7 separate regions of the Homo sapiens genome follow, and regions 1, 2, 4, 5, 6 and 7 are each linked to region 3. The links are contacts of gene promoters, found by promoter capture Hi-C in blood cells and fetal thymus (Javierre and others, 2016). All regions are on one chromosome and are shown on one strand. The core of a region is centred on a gene start or on the middle of the fragment in contact, and the rest is flanking DNA. Distances in the headings are between cores, read along the strand shown.

Region 1 (2,700 bases), core at 17-2,516, 6.2 Mb after region 3:
ATAAATAAAAAATCTTAATGTTATAATGTGATGCTAACATCGAAGCTTGTTTGCTCTCCTGAGCTTGGGCTGGGGGATGCTCCAGATCTGTTGTGGGCCCCTGCTACTGCCCATCTCTGCTCATTCATGTGCTCCTTGGGCTACAGGCAGGCCCCTTGAGTGGTAGTTCTATTTGTAATCTAAGCATATTTAGGGTTAAAATTAATACCAAAAGCAAACAAAATAATATTGTTTAGATGCATTCAAATTCACACTTCTTACATGTCATATTTCCTAGGTGAACCACTAGATGCACAGAAGGGGAAAATGGAATAAAAAATGTGTAGTAAATTTTAAAAAAGGAAAGGAAGAAAAAGAAAAATAGAATAAGCAAGACAAATAGCTCAGAACAAGGTGGCAGATTTAAATGCAAACATATCGGTAATTATGTGTTAAATACTCCAGTTAAATGAAAATGTTGATCTGACTGGATAAGAAAACGAAACCTAATTCTGTGTTGCTTAATATAATTATCTCAGTGAGAAAACATTTGATAAAATTTACCATCTTTTTGTGTTTAAAAAAACAGGAAACTAGAAATGGAAGGAATTTCATTAGTTTGATTAAGTATATCTAGCAAAAAAACTTACAGCAAATATCACATTTAATGGCAAAACATTGAAAGCTTTCTTATTGAGATCAAGAAAAAGACAGGAATGCGCATTATGACCAACTCTATTCAGTTTTGTGTGGGATAGCCTTGTCAATGAAGTAAGCCAATAATTATAAATAAAAGATGTAAGGTTTGGAAAGAAGGGAAGCAAAACTGGCATGTGTAGATAATATGGTTGCATATTTTTGCACTGAGATTTCTATGTGTAGAAAATAAAGATTCTACAGTTAAATCATAAGTATTAATAAGTTTAGGTGAATGCTGAATCCAAAATCAAGATGCAAAACCAGTTGTATTTCTATGTATCACTAGCAAATAGAAAATAAAATATAGGCAGGGAGTTTTACACCTGTAATCCCAGCACTTTGGGAGGCTGAGGCAGGAGGATCGTTTGAGCCAAGGAGTTTCAGACCAGCTTGCACAACATAGTCCAGCCTGTCTCTACAAAAAGTTAAAACAAATTAGCCAGGTGTGGTGGTGCATGCTTGTAGTCCCAGCTACTTGGGAGGCTGAGGTGGTGGGAGGATCACTTGAGCACAGGAGGCTGCAGTGAGCTATGATTGTGCTACTACTGCACTGCAGCCTGGGTGACAGAGGGGGACCCTGTTTTGGGTTTTTTTAATTTAAAAATATGTTTACAATAATATAAAAAATAAGATAACTAGGAAGAAATTAATAAAAGATACGCAAAACTCTGATAGGGAAAAATATACTTCGTTGAGAGCTATCAAAGAACATTAAGTAACTGGTGTGATATATTATGTTCGTGGATTAGTAAAGTCAGTATTTAAGCCTTTCAGTTTTCCCCAAATTGATCTATAGAGACAATATTGTACTAATCTAAATCTCAACATGATTATTTTTATGCAACTTCACAGATTCTAAAATTTATATGACCCTCAAAGGGCCAAAAATTGCCAAGACATTCTTGAAGAGAAACCTATCAGAAATCCTCTCTTTTTTACAGCTATAGAAATTATGGCTGTGTGATGTTGGCACAAGGATAAACAGATGGGCCAGAGAAACAGATGGAGAGAACCAAAAAACAGATCTGTGTCTGATTTAAGACAGAGGTGGCTCTGCAGACCAGTGGGCAGTAATGGTCTTTTTAAATAATGGTGCTGAGACAATGAGCTACCTGGTCACACCATGTGCAAAAATAAACTCCAGGTATCCACATCAGACCTAAATGTGAAAGGAAAGCTATAAAGCTTTGAGAAAATACTACAGAGCTATACAATAATAATGCAAAGCTATAAAGCTTTGAGGAAATAATACGATTGTTTTTGTGATCTCAGTGTAGGGAGGTGTTTCTTAAAACTAGTATACTAATCCTAAAGGAAAAGACTAATAAATTTGGCCATATTTCAATTAAGAAAGATAAATGATGAAGTAGAAAATATTCATTACACCTCTAACTAATCAAGGACATACATTGTGTATATATAATAAATTCCCACAAACCAGTTAGGAAAATGGCAGGCAACGCAATGGAAAAATGGACAATACTTTACTGAGTACTTAAAAATAAACATTGAAGTGGTCAATAAACATTTTCTATTAACATTGCTCTTGCTGTAAAAATTGGTACCACTGCTTTGGAAAACAATTTGGCATTACGCAGTAAAGTGAAGACACATATGGTGGCCCAGCAGTTTTATCCCCAGGAATATATTATGAAGAAACGAGTTCCCATGTGTCCCCAGGAGACATGTACAAGAAGGTTACCTCCTCTGGGTCTAACTTGATCCTCTGTATAATGGGACTCACAGTGCTTAACCTTATAGGGAGAATTCGAATTAAATAATTGAATTAAATAGAATGTTTGTAAAGTGCATAATTTAGTGCCTTGTGTCTAGTACATGCTTAATAGTAACTGCTTGCTAGCAATAGTAATATAATTGTTGGTTAGTCTCATCAGCTGACATCTCAGAGAAGGGCCATTTTAGGATTGGTCTTTTCTGAAGGAAACCAGAACTCTCCAAGTGATTGAAAAGTTTGAGAAGATCAAGGGACTATCCCCTTCCCATCCTTATTGTCCCATAAAT
Region 2 (2,700 bases), core at 69-2,568, 8.1 Mb before region 3:
CCTTTTGCTGTGCTCTTTCTTCAACTCTACTGTGTTTCTTAGCTGAAGACCTCATGAGTAGGCTGTGTTCCAAAACAAAAAGCACCTTATGACTTGGTATGGTGGTTTTCATTATGGAACTGAAGCTACTTTTGACAGACTCATCTTGCATCAAGTTCTCCCTGAGACATACGGGAGGGGAAATGGGTGGGGTGTGTATGGCACAGGAATAGCCACAGTTAAGTGGCTGAGGAGGCCAGAACAAGTACATGCTGGTTCCCTATTCCATCTATTTCCCTGTGTCTGAAATTCTCCAAAATACAAAGTTAAAAAAGAAAAGAAAAGCACATCTCTTTCAAAGAGAGAAGTATATTTGATTGGCATTATTACAGGATTTTGTCTGGAGACTTTGGTATGGTATAACTGCTCTTCACACCATTTCCCTTGGATTGAGATAGAATCTACAAGACATGAAACTAAGGAGAGCTCCTCAAAGTTCAGCCAAAATTAAGGAAAATGAACCAAAAACAAAATTCCTCAAATGACCTCAAGGTTATCCATGAGAAGATCCATGGTAATACTTGGCAGAGGATGGAACTTATTTCCATCGTGCTACACCGTATGTCTCCTATAAGCTATTTTCTGCAACTTCTGAACAGCTAAACTTCAGCCCTCTGTGACATGGAAAGCGAGGAAATAAACAAGCCCCACTGGGAGAAGGATGCCTCAGAGGGTGCTGAAATAAAAAAGGAAAGGCAAGGGATTTCAGGAGTTAAGAAATCCTAAAGAAAAATGGGAGCATGCATTTGGAGAAGGAGAGGGTAAAGACATGCATCTTACGGCAGCCAGAGAACACAGGAAGGGGAATGACAGGGGAAGGCGCTTCCTGGTGCTCCAACGCCCAGCAGCCCTCGCCACCCACATCCCCGGACTCCCGGGGCGGGAGGGCTGCGCACACCTGGGACTTGGGGGAGGCGAGGGGCTCCGAGGAGCCGGGCTCGGAGAGCAGGCGAGCGGAGAGGCGGGCGGCCGGGGTTCGGGGCGGGCGCGGACCGTTCCATCCCGGACGGGGGGCACCCGCTCCACCCGCCGGGGATCCCCGGGGCGCGGCGATGGTGCCTCCTGACGCCGGCGCAGCGTCGCCGGGGCGTCCCAGACCGCAGGCCCCGCGCGGCCGCCCAAGCCCGGCTCCCACGTCCCGCTCTCGGCTCCCCGGAGGTCGGAGACTTTGAGGTAAGGGGCCAGCTCCCTCCTACTCACCGACCGCGAGGCTAGGCAGCTCCAAATCCCGCGGCGACCGCTCCCTCCCGCCCTTGCCGCCGCCGCGGGCCCAAGCTGCGTCAGGACGTGCGCGCGCCCGCCTTTGTCTGCGCCGCCCAACGTGACCCTGCGCCCACCGCCCCGCACGCTCCCGTCGGGCGCGCGCGGGCCGGCAGGGCGGGGGCCTAGGGAGAGGCGGGTGCCGCGTGGACCGGTCGCGGGTTGGGCGACCCGCGGAGTCGCCCTCTGGCGGACTAGGGGGCACTGCCGGGGGCGGGGCGGGGCAGGAGCAGGAGAGGCCGGGCCCTGGCTGTCCCTCCGCTGGCGCGTCCCTCTCAGAAAGCGGAGCGCTTCCCTGCGTTAGGACCCGATACTGGCTCCCTCCCCGGAGGTTCGCTTGTGTGTTCCGGAGAGGGTGAAATCAGGCTGGCACCGCGGGAAGAGGCTAGAGTCACTAAATCACCTTGTCCTCTTGAGGCTGCTGTCCGTATGCAGCGACATTCTGCCCGTTAGAGGACTCAGCTCAGGGCCTGGTACGCTCAAGATCTGTTAGCTACCAGCACCATCACCACGACCACCGTCATCACCAGCAGTATCCCTCAGCCTCGTCTACCTTGCTCGTCAAGCAGGGTGCTCCAGGAGTGGGTGTAGGCCACTTTCGCCCTGCCTGGCAGATGCAACTTTCCAACTTCCACCTCCACTTGGACCTGCTCTCTCTACTCAAGTCTAGCTGGTGGCTGCTGGAGTTTGCGTGTGTGTTTCTTACTATATCTTCTGACTTCGGACGCCTAACCCAAGCTTATTATCTCCCCTAAAATGGGACCTCCTTAAAATATATATTACCTTTCTTTTTCCTGTTCTTAAAAGACAGTTTGCCTTTAGTGCCAAGCCCTCTCCGCCGGTTTACGCTGTACACGGCTGTCAGATTGTCATTCCGTGCTAAATGCATAATCTGATAATGAAATCTTTAAAGTCCACATTCTTAGACCTCAAAATCTCTGTAAGAATAAAGGGCAGAGTATGGTAGTTCACGCCAGTAATCCCAGCGTTTTGGGAGGCCAAAGCAGGAGGATCGCTTGAGGCCAGGAGTTTGAGACTAGCCGGGGCAACGTAACGAGACCCCCACTTCTACAAAAATTTTGAAAATTAAAAAAAAATGGTGGGGGGAGCGGGGCGCGGGTAGCTCACGCCTGTAATCCCAGCACTTTGGGAGGCAGAGGCGGACAGATCACTTAAGGCCAGGAGTTTGAGACCAGCCTGGCCAACATGGTGAAACCCCGTCTCTACTAAAAATACAAAATTTAGCCGGGGGTGATGGCACGCACCTGTAATCCCAGCTACTCGGGAGGCTGAGACAGGAGAATTGCATGAACCCAGGAGGCAGATGTTGCAGTGAACTGAGATTGTGGCACTATACTCCAGCCTGTGTGACAGAGCGAGACCCAAACTCAAAAAAAAAAA
Region 3 (2,791 bases), core at 210-2,709:
TCTCAAATTCATCAATTTCTTTTCATCTCCACCATTAAATTACTACCTTAGGCGAAGCCACTTTCGTTTTTAAAAAAATTTATTTACTTTAGAGATAGGGTCTCTCTGTCACCCAGGCTGGAGTGCAGTGGTGCCATCATAGCTCACTGCAGCCTCGGACTTTTCGGCTCAAGTAGTCCTTCTGCCTCAGCCTTCGAAGTAACTGGGACCTCAGGCGAACACCACCGCGCCCAGCTAATTTTTTATTTTTTGTAGAGATGGAGTCTCACTTTATTGCCTAGGCTGGAATCGAACTCCTGGCCTCAAGCGATCCTCCAGCCCCAGCCTCCCAAAGCGTTGGGATTACAGGCATGAGCCACTGTGTCTGGCTTGAAGCAACCTTTGTCATACCCTAGTCTCCTTGCTTTCATTTTTTCCCTCCAAAAGTCCTTCACACAGCAACTAGACAACTTTTCACAAACATAGATCATTAAAAGGCCTAAAAAACACTTCCTACAAGATTCTGCATGACCTCGCCCTGGCAAGCATATCTAATTTCATTACCTGTCTTACATTGTCACTTTGATGACCCTTATATTCATTCTCTCATATCTTCAACTCTTTGTACTTTACTGTTCCTACTGCCTGGATTGCTTTTTCCTCAGCTCCTCAGTGACTGGCTTATTCTTATCTTTTAGATCTCAACTCAAACATCTTCTGTTCAGAGAAACCTTCCCTGAGTAACCCTATCTGAAGTGTCCTTCATCATCTCTGGTCTTTCTTTCATAGTATGATTATATAGTGTAATTGTTAACTTATTTGTTCACTTGTTTACTGTGTCTCCCCCATCAGTGTTCCAGGAGAGGTGGGACATTTTTTCTGGTTAACCAAATCCTCAATAATTACCACAATGCCTGGCACACTGTAAGCACACTGTTATTTCTCCAACAAAAAACTCAATGAATGAATCTAGGATACTTCCGAAATTATGACTTAGGCAGAAGTAGAGCAAATGTAAAGAAAAGCCTACACAGGAAACGCAGATGGAAGAGTAACGCGCACATGGATGAGAAGGACGCTTAAACTTGGAGTCAGCTTCGCCAAATCCCGGGCCGCCCCCCACCCCAAGTCCGGAGCTGACAGCTGACAGCTGACAGCATGACGCGACGTCCTGCATTGGTAGGCACGAAGGACGGGACACATCGACCCCATGGGCTGAGGTGACGGAGTCCTGTGCTCACAACCCGGCCGGGGCAGCGGGCAGTAAACCCCTGCTAGACACGCGTGAGAACCTATGTTGGAAAATCGGGGTTCCGGAAGCCTCACATCCAGAGCGGCACGAGGCAACAGACCCGCTGCGTACGCGTTTTCTAAGTGTCCGAAAATGGGCAAAATTCCCTGCGCAAACCCCGGGTGTAAGAACAACCGGAGGAGACTCACATCATCCGACTGCATGGTGTCCGCGGCTCAGCGTGCAACTTCCGGTCGGATCGCGGGCGCAGACATGCTCCTTCCGGGAAACCAGTTCCGGAACGCGCAGCCTCACCTATCTCGAGAAACGCTGAGACTCTCGGTGTTGCGAAGCGTCCCCTGGCAGTCTCGTCGCCGCGCGCGCGCCCCCGCGTCTTCACCACGCTGGCGTCTGCGCGCGCCCGTCCGCAATGCTGGGCTTGTTCATGGGCGCAGCCTGGAGCTGGGAACCCTGTTGGGACCCAGTGCGATCCGCGGGAGGCAGGACGCGCGCAGTCTGCCGAATCCTGGAGCGCGGGGACCGCGGGGGTCGGGCGTGCTTCCCTAGCGCCCTGTTTGTGACCGTTCATGAGGATGGGACCCCTCCCTGTCGGGCCTCCCCTCTGCTGGGAGGAGGCTGGGGAAAGCTGCAGGCGGCGCGGCGGGGCTGGGTCCCCGCTCCTCCGAGTCCCCCGGCCCCAGCTCGCAGCCAGGCCCCGGCCCTGCCCCTCAGACCCTGACTTAGCCACTCCCCACGCCCACGTTGGGTGCGGCACCGGGTCCTGACTTTAGAAACTCAGAACTTGAATTCCTCCTGCTTTGAGAAACCACTGACCAAATGGAAAGAGCATTCCAATAATAATAAACACCTGTGTCTTCCTCATTGCCTATTTGAGACAACAAACAAAGTTGATAAGGGAGGGAAAATACCAAGAAGAAAAGTAGAGGTCTAATAACCCACAAAAACAAATCTGGAAGCCTAACAGCTCTTTTCCGCCAGGGGAAAAAGAAAATCTTTACTAGTTTGTATCGTATTATAGAAGAAAGACTGTCGGCCGGGCCGGGCGCGGTGGCTCTCGCCTGTACCTCAGCACTTTGGGCGGCCTAGGCGGGCGAGTTCCAGACCAGCCTGGCCAACATAGTGAAATCCCGTCTCTACTAAAAATACAAAAATTAGTCGGGCGTGGTAGCAGGTGCCTGTAATCCCAGCTACTTGGGAGGCTGAGGCAGGAGAATCGCTTGAACCCGGGAGGCGGAGGTTGCAGTGAGCCGAGATCATGCTGTGGCCCTCCAGCCTGGGTGACAACCAAAACTACCTCTCAAAAAAAAAAAAAGAAAAAGAAAAAAGAAAAGGAAAGAAAGACTGTCAAGAGGCATTTGAACCAGAGCAACCCCATCTTGAATAGTGGCTGGGTAAAATAAGGCTGAGATCTGCTAGGCTGCATTCCCGAGGGTCAGGCCATCTAAATCACAGGATGAGGTCAGCACAAAATACAGGTCATAAGGATGTTGCTGATAAAACAGATTGCAGTAAAGAAGCCAGTCAAGACCCACAAAACCAAGATGGCAATGAGTTTGACCT
Region 4 (2,700 bases), core at 99-2,598, 5.7 Mb after region 3:
TACCACAATCTGTAAGGCATTAATATCTATTGCCATTCCCATTTTACAAATAATACAACGGAGAACCCAAAACAATTGCTATTTACAGAACAGAGCTAAATTCTTACTTTGGAAAACCAGAAAGTTCCTAAAACGGTTATTGTTAGCTATTGTTACTATCTTTGTGTCACCAGCTCCTGGTACAGTGTTTCTGGCACATTTTTAGTTTCAAATAAGTTTAGAGTTTTATGTTTATTTTTTCAAATTTAATTTTCACAAATTTGTATGTCATCCTTGAGCAGGGGCCATGTTAAAGTTCTCTGTATCATTCCAATTTTAGTATACATGCTGTCAAAGCAAGCATGTAAATAAATTTCGTTAAGTGACGCCCTCAATTTCATAGAATGAAGTCAGTGACAGTGATGTAAGAGTGTCAGTTTAAAAGGAAAAGGCTGAGGCAAAAAAAAAAAGAATGTAGAGTTTGCTTGAGTTAAAGCGGGGACAGCTGCCCAGAAGATTCCAACCCCCCTCCCCCCACCGCCCTCCACCAGCAGGCTTGGATATGAGCTCTGTCTGGCCTTTGCTACAAGCAGGTTTTTAAAGACGAAGAAGGGGGGCAGGAAGTGGGCTGATACACAACTGTCAAGCATTCTCATTGATGTATAGAAACTACAAGCATCAGTGATTGGCTAGACATTGTTAAACTATAGGGTGTGGGTCATGTCATAGTGTCTTGTGTGGCAGTGTTAGGTTAGTAGGTAGCTACCTGTGGCAGAAGCAGGTAGTTTCAGTAGATGAATACATAGCTCAAGGGGGTGGTAGAACATGATGGGGTCTTATCTTAATGCCTCTCCAGACCTAGTAATTTAAAGGGACTCACATTCCTCAGATAAAAGTGCTTTCTCAAGAGAAATAATCAGGGCAAAGCCAAGTGCTGTAGGAGCTTTACATGAATATGATTATTCCTACTTTATAGCAGGAGGACCTCTGAGGTTCAGAGGTTTGGGATGGCAGGCCTTCGATTTAAGCCAGAACAAAGTCCAATCCCCAAGAGGCATATTGTCCTGGTGAGTATCAGAAACAACTCGTTTGTGTGCTATGTTCTAAACCCTTGGCGCCCATTAACTTATTTAACCCTAAAAAATATCCTGTGAGTTAGCTGCTCTAGTATCATCTTCATTTCGCTGCTGAGGAAAGTGAAGCACAGACAGGTTAACTAACGTGCCCAAGATGCCCAGCCTCTTTCCCTTAACCCACAAATCACTGAACCAAACTCCTTGCCACTACACTTCGCCTCGCCAGGATTAAAAATGGCGCCCACGGCCGGCGTTATGACGCGCCCCGACGTCCGCCGGAAGTGCACGGAGGAGTTCCGGGGGCCAGGCGGCCGCCGCGAGTCTGGTATCCTGAGCTTCGTGAGTTGAGCGCTGCTGCTCCGCGGTGGAGTCACCGCACCGCTCCCGGGATCATGGTGTTCTACTTCACCAGCAGCAGCGGTGAGTGGGCGCCACGTCCTCCTGGACCCTGCTGGACAGCGGGCTCCGAAGCCGGGACCCGCAGTCCGCCGCTGCGCCTGACCCTCGCTCTAAAATGCCTTCTGGATGCGAGTGCCTCTTCCCGCGGCCTCTCGGTCCCCCAGCACATCCGTCCCTCCCACGGCTGCAGGATTTCCCCCGGCGTCCCCTCGTCATGGCGTGGGGGGCGCGGAGGGGCGATGCCACTGCTATGTTTGTATCGGGGAGTTCTCGTCCCCTAATCGGAAAGACGTCCCGTCACTCCCTGGGATTGGGCAGAGCCTGTGGGCTCCTCCACACACCTTATCCCAAGTCTTCTTCCCACCTTCCATCTGCGGCCTTTGTTCTGGCTGAACCCTTGTAATTATCCCCTGTGAGAAAGGAGACACCTGCTAACAACTTTTTCTTAAGGGAAGCGCGACTTACCCTTTCAGGAAGGGGTTGTAGGGTCTGGGATGCAACAGAAAACAATAAAAAGACCCTGGGATGTCCACCCAGCCACTCTCCGGGCAGTTGATGTCCCAGATCTCAGAAGTGACCTATGGTAATGCTTCTGACTTATCTTTGACAGATAAGGAAAGGGTGCCCTTCGTTCCCAGGAAATGCAGTGTCCCGACTTGGTTTCGTTCTGTTCCTGTTATTCCCCTTTCCTAAAATCAACCCCCAGCTAATTCCCTTAAGACAGTTTTGGCCCATCTTTTCCAAGATGCCTTTCCTGATGCTAGCTCCTACCCCAAGATTGCTTAGCTATTCCTTTCCTGGGACCCACTTAACGTTCCAAGTATGCCTTTGGCATTGCACTTATCACGTGGTATTAAATGGTGTCTGCTTGAGCTAGAGTGTAAGTCCCTTGAGGGCGTGGACAGGATCTCTTTACAGTAGTCCCTACTTGTCCTGTATTTCGCTTTCCGTGGTCACATCATCACAAGAAGAAAAGGAGTGAGTACAGTACAATAAGGTTTTGAGAGAGAGAGAGAGCAGAGTCACCTAACTTTTATTACAGTACGTTGTTATAATCGTTCTATTTTATTATTAGTTATTGTCAATAATCTCTTACTCCACCGAACTGATACATTAACTTTATCATAGGTATACATATATAGGGAATACCAGTAGCCATGCGTCCCTTAATGACAAGAATACATTCTGAGAAATGCTCCATTAGGCGGTTTCATTGTTGTAGCAACACGGTAGAGTATACTTAAAC
Region 5 (2,700 bases), core at 134-2,633, 8.0 Mb before region 3:
ATGTTGGCCAGTCTGGTCTCAAACTCCTGACCTTGTGATCCACCCGCCTCGGCCTCCCAAAGTGCTGGGATTACAGGCATGAGCCACCGTGCCCGGCCAAGCTTATCTGTTAAACGAAATGATCAGATTGAATTTTACCCTCTGAGCCTAAATGCTGGCTTTGGTCTCAGAGGCATTTTTACTTGCTGTCTTAACTGCTGCATGGAGTTAATATACAGCTGTGTATTACTCTGGCAGCACACATTTCCTTTATGGAAAACTTGTGGTCACTTCAAAATCTACACAGTACTTGGGAATAGAAAACAACTATTCCCTTTCTATTCCTAGGGAATAGAAAACAACTTGTCACAAGCAAATTTCCTCAGGGAGCCCCTATCAGGGATCTGATAATTTTACATTTATAGCTCTTGCTGGCAGGGGCTGGTGAAGTTTCTGTATTCAAGATGGCTGCTGTGGGGTTTCTGGTTACTTAAAAGGTGATTTTTCCTATCCTGAAATAGTCCCTCCATGTCATTAAATATTAAGGGAAGATCTTTTCTGCAATATTAAAAATCCCCCAAAACATGCTGTTTGGCCTTTCCTAATTGTGTGTGTGTGTGTTGTTGTTGTTGTTGTTTTTGAGACAGGATCTCATTCTGTCACCCAGGCTGGAGTGCAGTGGCATGATCTCAGCTCACTGCAGCCTCGACCTCTCAGGCTTAAGTGATCCTCCCACCTCAGCCCTGCAAGTAGCTGGGACCACAGGCGTGGGCCACCATGCCCAACTAATTTTTGTGTTTTTTTGTAGAGACAAGGTTTTGCTGTTGCCCAGGCTGGTCTCAACTTCTGGGCTCAAGTAATCTGCCCACCTTGGCCCCTCAAAGTGCTGGGATGATAGGTGTGAGCCCAGCCCCTACTTTTTTTTTGTTTTTGTTTTTGTTTTGAGATGGAGTCTTGCTCTGTTGCCTAGGCTGGAGTGCAGTGGCGTGATCTTGGCTCACTGCAGCCTCCGCCTCCCGGGTTCAAGTGATTCTCCTGCCTCAGCCTCCCGGGTAGCTGGGATTACAGGTGCTTGCCAACACACCCAGCTAATTTTTGTATTTTCAGTAGAGATGGGGTTTCACTATGTTGGCCAGGCTGGCCTCGAACTACTGACCTCAAATGATCCACCCACTTCGGCCTCGCAAAGTGTTGGGATTACAGGTGTGAGCCACCGTACCTGGCCTGGCCCCTAATTGTTAACTGAAGCACTCTTCATTTTAAAATTAGAAACGAGAATCACAGATGTTGATTTTCAAGCGCATAATTCTTCAAATATCTAAGAAAGTAGAAACTGGACTAAGTAAAACATTTGTAGATTTTATGAGATAAACAAAGATGTGCAAGTTGTGCACATGAATCCTTTTGTTGGGAGGAAAAGATCACATCTATGTTTCTCAGCCCTTGCACATCCCAGAATCTGAGCTAGCTATGTTGTTTGACACTCGGCTGCTCCGTGAAGAGTAATTAACAAAACATTTTGAATACAAGTTATTATCATTTCCTGGCAATAAACAGGTCTGTTAAAACATGAGGTAAGAGGATATATACATGAACAGAAACAGAAAGATCAAGAACAACAGATATGGCAGCTAATAGGTGGATTTTTAGGTCTCCTGCTTTTTTTTTTTAAAGAACTCTTTGTAGGTGAAACGAAATATTTCTTCAAAGATAGTTTATAAATCTGAAGATTAAAGATTTCACTAGCAAAGTAAAATGTGACAGCACAAAGTTAGATAAGTTACTAAGTCAATAAATCCTTTTATTGCTCAGATACTATTTTTTTAAAAACCCACAACATCCTGCTAGCATAAACTTGTTTTCACTTGACAATAACCCTTAACCAAAGATCTTTGGTAGTGCCTAACTCATAAAAACTTTTTTTTTTTTTTTTTTTTTTTTTGCAAAATGGAGGCTTAAAAATGTAAAGAGTAGGCGTTAAGTTCCCATAGGGCTTCCTGGTTGTAGGCAGAATTTCACAGAACTTCGTATCTGCAGCATTTGAGGTACATATATGGGAAGAACTTAGGATATAATTCAGAAGAGCCAAGATCTTTATTTTGGTTCTGTAATTCTGTGCCTACTCATTTTGGAGCAAAATACATGTATTGCTGTACCCCTAACAATCCTAGCACGTAGGTGGTCCACAATCCCCATTTTGACATTCCCAACAATCCACAGCAAATGGGATGTTAATCAGATGTTTGCCGTTCTCTACACATTTCCAAGTTTTGAGTACAGTACTGGAGAGTACCATCATAAAGCCATTTATTCCAGCTCTTGGGGGTGGGGTAGAATAAAATCATTCACACTGACACCCTTGCACATTAAAGCTGGTCACTGTGTAATGGTTACAGTCATCGATGTTTATCCTTCCAGCAAGCACACATGAGGACAGGGATGACTCTGGCCTGTTTCAGTTAGTGTTTGCACTACAGAGTAGTCTCTGGTGATGTTAGACTACAAGCGTGCTTGATTCATTTTATCTAATGAGTGACAAGCACCTTTTTTCATATTGTTCTTGTAACTTTGATTTTACATAGAGAAATTCAGTAGCAAGAACTCAAATGAGTACAAAGTATTGTTTGTGCTTTATTAGGTCCTTAGAGAATTTTGAAAAGTGGAAATTATCTGAAAATAAGCTTTTATCAGAAGACTAAGTTAAAAGAATTAAGGAGAAAT
Region 6 (2,700 bases), core at 184-2,683, 5.7 Mb after region 3:
AGAATCTTGCTCTGTCACCCAGGCCGGAGTGCAATGGTGCGATCTCAGCTCACTGCAACCTCCACCTCCTGGGTTCAAGCAATTATCCTGCCTCAGCCTCCCGAGTAGTCGGGATTACAGGCACGTGCTACCACGCCCAGCTAATTTTTGTATTTTTAGTAGAGACAGGGTTTCGCCATGTTGGCCAGGCTGGTCTTGAACTCCTGGCCTCAAGTGATCCACCTGCCTCAGCCTCCCAAAGTGCTGGGATTACAGGCGTGAGCCACCACTCTTGGCCTCCTGTCATCTTATGGTATGTTTCTATTGATTGATTGATTTTTTAATTTTTTGAGATGGAGTCTTGTGCCCTGTCGCCCAGGCTGGAGTGCAATGGCGCTATCTCAGCTCACTGTAACCTCCGCCTCCTGGGTTCACGCCATTCTCCTGCCTCAGCCTCCCGAGTAGCTGGGATTACAGGCACGTGCCACCACACCTGGCTAATTTTTTGCCTCTTTAGTAGAGACGGGGTTTCACCATGTTGGCCAGGCTGGTCTCGAACTCCTGACCTAGTGATCTGCCTGCCTCGGCCTCCCAAAGTGCTGGGATTACAGGCGTGAGCCACCGCGCTAGGCCTCTATTGATTTATTTTTCTCCTATATTGGTCATATTTTCTTGCTGCTTTCATGCCTGGTACTTTTTGATTGGGCAGTAGATATTTTGCATTGTCTAGTACTGGATTTTGTTATTCCTTTAAAGAGTGTTTGATTTAGTTATGGTCTGAGGTTAAGTTACCTGCACATTAGCCTGTTCCTTTTGAGACTGGCTTTTAAGCTTTGTTTTGAATGTTTATCTGGGGCTAAACTTTAGCTGTACTATCTAGTTGTGACCCTTTAGAGGACTTTACTATGTGTTACAGGGTTACCATCCTCTAGCTCATGGTGATATGAAGTGTTCCTAGACTTGTATGATCTCTGGTAATTGTTGAGCCAATTGCTTTCCTCTGGTGCTTTCCCAGCTTTGGGGCATCTACACATTGTTATGTGCGGATAAGTACTTGGCCAAACACTCAAAGAGAAACTGTTCAGATCTTTGGAGTGCTCTCTTTGGAGCTCTCTAGTTCTCTGCTCCACAAATTCTAGCCGCCTAGTCCTTCTTGACCTCTGATCTCTGTCTCTTCAATGTGACAGGACTTCTGGATTATGTGACCTCTGTCCTGCAGTCTGGAAACTGCCTTCAAGCAGTAAGTTAGGGCAGTGATAGGGCCCACCTCATTTGTTTCTCTTCTCTCAGGCATCACAACACTGCTCTGCCTGTTGTCAAGTGTCTGAAAACAATTATATTTTGTCTAGTTTTCTAGTTAATGGCGAGATGGTAACTCTAGGAGCAGTTAATTGTCCAGGAGTAGTTAATTATTTTTCATGAGCAGAAGCAGAACTCCATCTTTTCATCTTTTTTTTTTTTTTTTTTTTTTTTTGAGACTGTGTCTTGCTCTGTCACCCAGGCTGAACACAGCTCACTGCACCTGCACCCTTAACCTCCTGGGCTCAAGTGTTTCTCCCAAGTAGCTGAGACCACAGGTGTGTGCCATCATTCCTGGCTAATTAAAAAAATTTTTTCGTGTGTAGAGATGGAGTCTCTTTATGTTGCCCAAGCTGGTCTCTACTGGGCTCAAGTGACCCTCCTGCCCCGGACTCCAAAAGCGTTGAGATTATAGGCATGAGCCACCACATCCAACCCCTTTATCTTTTAACAATGTTTTAAAAATGTGAAAACAGTTCTTAGCTTGTAGGCCATACAAAAACAGGCCATTTCCCAATCTCTGCTTCAGAGTTACTGTAGGATAAAACTCCAAAAGTAGGCTTGGTCAAAAGATACCCATTTAAAATTAGGATATATGTTGTCAAATTGCTCTCCAAAAAGACTGTGCCAATTAATACTCTTGGCAGTAGTATATTGAGAATGTTAAGATGCTTTATTTTTATTTTTTATTAATTTTATTTTTTATTTCTCTGACATTTAGTATTATGTTCAACTCCAACTATAAATATCCCGGCCTCTCCGTTTATGCAGAAGCTTGGCTTTGGTACTGGGGTAAATGTGTACCTAATGAAAAGGTAAGTATAAGATTTCAGATTAACCTTTTTTCATGCAACTATAATTCTACTGTACTTGGAGACAAAGAAGTAGTCTGAAAATTCCAGTATTTAGATTCGGTTGTCTGCTCCTGATCCTGGCTGATGGCTGTATTCCGGTCCCTAGACCCTTTTGTAACTTTGCCTGTAGCTCTGCCTCTGCTTTTCTCCTAGCTTCCTCCTGATGGGTTATTAAAGGGGAAGTCATTTACTTTTTAATTTTTCCTTGGCTTCCATAAGAAGGGGAAGTGGCAGGGGAAAGGGTTCCTTTGTGGTAATTAAACCAGATTCTTCATGAGAAAACCTCAAAGAGGAAGCCAGTATTGGGTGATGTCAGTGACTGCTGTCTTTTCTGCAGCGTTGCCCTCCTAAGATATGCTCTTCTAAAAGAAGTAAAAGATTTTCATTTCTTATGGCATTGTTATTAAGAAGGGTAAATACATGATTTTAAAGTAGGAATATTGTGTTAAGAAAAATGAAATAATCGAACAAGTATGGTGCCAATATAGCTGTCAACAAAGTGTTTTTTTAAATTACTTTTTTATTATTCATATATTTTTTTGAAACAGAGTCTCACTCTGTTGACCAG
Region 7 (2,723 bases), core at 204-2,703, 6.9 Mb after region 3:
TTGTTCCCAAGAAACCCCCTAAGATCAAATGATAACAAGGCCCCAAGATATTTCTAAGAACTGTCATTAAACTTTCTTTACAGCACTTGCAATTGAGCTAATTATCCTATAGCAATTTTCTCCAGACCTGGCCGTACTTTCCAAACATTTATTTTTATCATATCCTTTTCACCAGAAGGAAAATAGGGGTGGAAGGGTGAGGTAGAACAAATCAAAGCAAAAAAAAAAAAAAAGTGAACACTATGATTGCAATGATTTAAAATTTTGGAAGCGTGTGTTTAGTTATTCAGATAATGAAAAAGCTAACAGCTGAAATATAATTTTAAAAGGCAGAAAAATGAATATTCATTATGTTGGGAGACATGATTCATTTCCAACTTTTAAAAAATATTTTTATATCTTTCTACCAATTTTTTAAAAGGAATATTAATCTAGGAGAAGTTGATAAAGTTCTAGAACAAATCAGTGATGAGTAAAAACAGCACACAGGCCTGCACACTTCTGGGCCAGTGTCATTCTACCAGACCAGATCGTGCCATCTTATAATTGGGGGAAAATGGAACATCAAAGTCATGGCATTTGAGAGCCTGGAGCTGAGACTGTCACAGCAAACACACATGGAGAAAACATTAAACGTGGAAATGTTAAAATCTATTTTAGGTTCATAAATCTGGGTGTGAGCTCCCAGGCAACAGTCACAGCCACTCCAGTTTTCCACTCCTCTGGACCGGTTTACAGCTATCCCTTGATGAATGCTGCTTATTTAAAAGCTGTCACTGGCTGCAGTGTTTGTCTTCAAACAGATGTGCTATTTCTCCAGAGCCCCGGGAGCTACCCCAGTAGAAAGGGCAGGCAGATACTGGGATGAACTCAGCTTCCTTAACCCTCTGGCGTCCAAAAATACCCAAACTCAGGAACTGCCCTGTTGCTTCTCCTTTGTAACATTAACACAATAAACACAAGGGCAGTCTTATTTGCACTAGTTGCCACTTAGAATAAAACCTAAAATTCCCTCAGGATTTAGGCAGTAATTTGTCTGTATTACTTAGTAATTAACTTGGTATCTTTCTTTGGCCCCTCCAACTTGGATTCTTGATGAAGAAAGCAGATGTGCTGTCTCAATAGAGGAGACTGTCTTTCACGTTTGCGTCCTTTGGGCAATCCAACCCAAACAATGACATTCTAGGCAAAACTTTAATATATTCAACATATCACAAACCAAGTATTTGAGCTGGCAACAGAAAGATATCATATCACCTCAGTTAAAAATAGTAAATTACATAATACCTAATGCAACGGGTGTACATTAATTGTTGCTTTGAATTCCCTAAATTTGAGTTTTCAAATTCACTAATTACCACCAATCAAAACCAGTTTAAAACAGATACTAAGTTGGTCACTCTCTGATGTTCCTGAAGTTTGATACTTTGGATGCGAATGGTATCTAATACTTGGGAAGTCTGGAAAGTGTTCAAATACATCTGTATATCATGAGTTACACTTACTTGATCAACCCATCTTCCATGTATATGTCTGCATAGAACGACTGGTCATCATTAACAATTTTACCTCCTTTGATCAGAAGACGATCGCTCTGAAACAAAGAGGCAGTAAGGTCACAACGCGTAACTGACCTATGAGAAACAGGTGCTAAGATATGTGAGCTAAGGATACATTTTCACTGTTCAAAAGTGATGTTCAAAATAAGCCCATTTTGGAAAGGTTCAGTGACAAAGGTAAGCCTGTATGTGGCAACCTATTCATCACCTGATGAGTCAGAACACACAGGGACAGCTTATCCTAGATAAACGAACCATCTCTTTCAATTAGACCTTGGACTCCAAAGAAAAAAAAAAAGCAGTGAAAATTATTTCATATAAAGAAGATAGGGCCGGGCACGGTGGCTCATGCCTGTAATCCCAGCACTTTGGGAGGCCAAGATGGGCGGATCACCTGAGGTCAGGAGTTTGAGACCAGCCTGGCCAACATGGTGAAACCCCATCTCTATAAAAAATACAAAAAATGGGCTGGGCATGGTGGTGGGCGCCTGTAATCCCAGCTACTCGGGAGGCTGAGGCAGGAGAATTGCTTGAAGCAGCAGGCGGAGGTTGTAGTGAACCGAGATCACGTCACTGCACCCCAGCCTGGGTTACACAGCAAGACTCCAACTCAAAAAAAAAAAAAGAAGATAGTACTTTTTAAAATGGCTTTTGGCTAAACCTCAATTTAAAAACAAACAAACAACAACAAAAAAAACCACCTACATATAGGAAAGCCATGTCTTGGAAAGACTGTGTCAAGCAAGCACAATTGACCAAAAAGTCTGCTGTCACGGGATATACCACACAAATACACTGGGTTCAACCATAGCAAGGTTTCCATTCAATATGTCCTTTATATTTGCATTTATCTTTGAGGTAAATCACAGCAAGTATAGCAAAAAGACTACAAAAAATACGCCATTGATGCCATTTTAACTAGGCTGTTAAGAAAAAGGTAAACTCCCACGAATAAGTATCTGAGATAGCAAATTCTAAGATGCAATGCACTACAGATTGCTGATGCACTTATATTTTAACCGGTGATATTTATGCTAAAAAATAAAGGACAAGCAGCAGATAAAGTCTGAGAATGTGACAGAAATGCTACATTATGACTCATCGTTATTGCAAATGCTGCTGATGGAAGGAATGCTGGCATCGAGTGTTCAGTAAATATGCACC

Evidence for each region. Contacts are between HindIII fragments. The CHiCAGO score rates a contact against its expected background, and 5 or more counts as called.
Region 1: a fragment that was not itself captured here is called in contact with the fragment with the promoter of MAK16 in region 3 in 1 of 17 cell types (M0 macrophages); the score reaches 7.1 in M0 macrophages.
Region 2: a contact is called between the fragment with the promoter of GPAT4 here and the fragment with the promoter of MAK16 in region 3, in 1 of 17 cell types (fetal thymus). The highest score is 7.9, in fetal thymus.
Region 4: the fragment with the promoter of CCDC25 here is called in contact with the fragment with the promoter of MAK16 in region 3 in 7 of 17 cell types (naive CD4 T cells, total CD4 T cells, activated CD4 T cells and 4 more); the score reaches 19.9 in naive CD4 T cells.
Region 5: a contact is called between a fragment that was not itself captured here and the fragment with the promoter of MAK16 in region 3, in 1 of 17 cell types (total CD8 T cells). The highest score is 6.5, in total CD8 T cells.
Region 6: a fragment that was not itself captured here is called in contact with the fragment with the promoter of MAK16 in region 3 in 1 of 17 cell types (monocytes); the score reaches 5.4 in monocytes.
Region 7: a fragment that was not itself captured here is called in contact with the fragment with the promoter of MAK16 in region 3 in 2 of 17 cell types (M0 macrophages and activated CD4 T cells); the score reaches 7.4 in M0 macrophages.

What each region holds. Positions count from the first base shown.
Region 1 is chr8:27,300,987-27,303,686 of GRCh38, reverse strand. All of the region lies in intron 1 of TRIM35 (tripartite motif containing 35), which reads left to right. Among named protein-coding and RNA genes, the nearest start is that of TRIM35, 8.9 kb to the left of the region's middle. The HindIII fragment of the contact is 1,199 bases long and covers 667-1,865 here.
Region 2 is chr8:41,576,818-41,579,517 of GRCh38, reverse strand. It overlaps GPAT4 (glycerol-3-phosphate acyltransferase 4), which reads right to left and starts at 1,318. Exons shown (of 13, transcript NM_178819.4): 1 at 1,240-1,318. It overlaps GPAT4-AS1 (GPAT4 and GINS4 antisense RNA 1), which reads left to right and starts at 1,150. Exons shown (of 3, transcript NR_125824.1): 1 at 1,150-1,212. RefSeq lists silencers at 812-951, 972-1,591. The HindIII fragment of the contact is 4,489 bases long and covers 1-2,039 here.
Region 3 is chr8:33,483,850-33,486,640 of GRCh38, reverse strand. MAK16 (MAK16 homolog) reads right to left here and starts at 1,459. Exons shown (of 10, transcript NM_032509.4): 1 at 1,420-1,459. The coding sequence starts at 1,434. RefSeq lists silencers at 1,452-1,639, 1,850-2,039 and enhancers at 1,530-1,679, 1,667-2,303. The HindIII fragment of the contact is 3,746 bases long and covers 1-2,791 here.
Region 4 is chr8:27,771,288-27,773,987 of GRCh38, reverse strand. CCDC25 (coiled-coil domain containing 25) reads left to right here and starts at 1,348. Exons shown (of 9, transcript NM_018246.3): 1 at 1,348-1,475. The coding sequence starts at 1,448. It also overlaps a transcript of ESCO2 not described here and the pseudogene RNU6-1276P. RefSeq lists an enhancer at 1,355-1,664. The HindIII fragment of the contact is 7,740 bases long and covers 1-2,700 here.
Region 5 is chr8:41,514,262-41,516,961 of GRCh38, reverse strand. No RefSeq gene overlaps it. Among named protein-coding and RNA genes, the nearest start is that of GINS4, 14 kb to the left of the region's middle. The HindIII fragment of the contact is 2,559 bases long and covers 104-2,662 here.
Region 6 is chr8:27,827,498-27,830,197 of GRCh38, reverse strand. It overlaps PBK (PDZ binding kinase), which reads left to right. Exons shown (of 8, transcript NM_018492.4): 3 at 2,000-2,093. Among named protein-coding and RNA genes, the nearest start is that of PBK, 9.0 kb to the left of the region's middle. RefSeq lists a silencer at 2,060-2,260. The HindIII fragment of the contact is 1,242 bases long and covers 813-2,054 here.
Region 7 is chr8:26,580,840-26,583,562 of GRCh38, reverse strand. It overlaps DPYSL2 (dihydropyrimidinase like 2), which reads right to left. Exons shown (of 14, transcript NM_001197293.3): 2 at 1,506-1,594. Among named protein-coding and RNA genes, the nearest start is that of DPYSL2, 68 kb to the right of the region's middle. The HindIII fragment of the contact is 3,760 bases long and covers 1-2,723 here.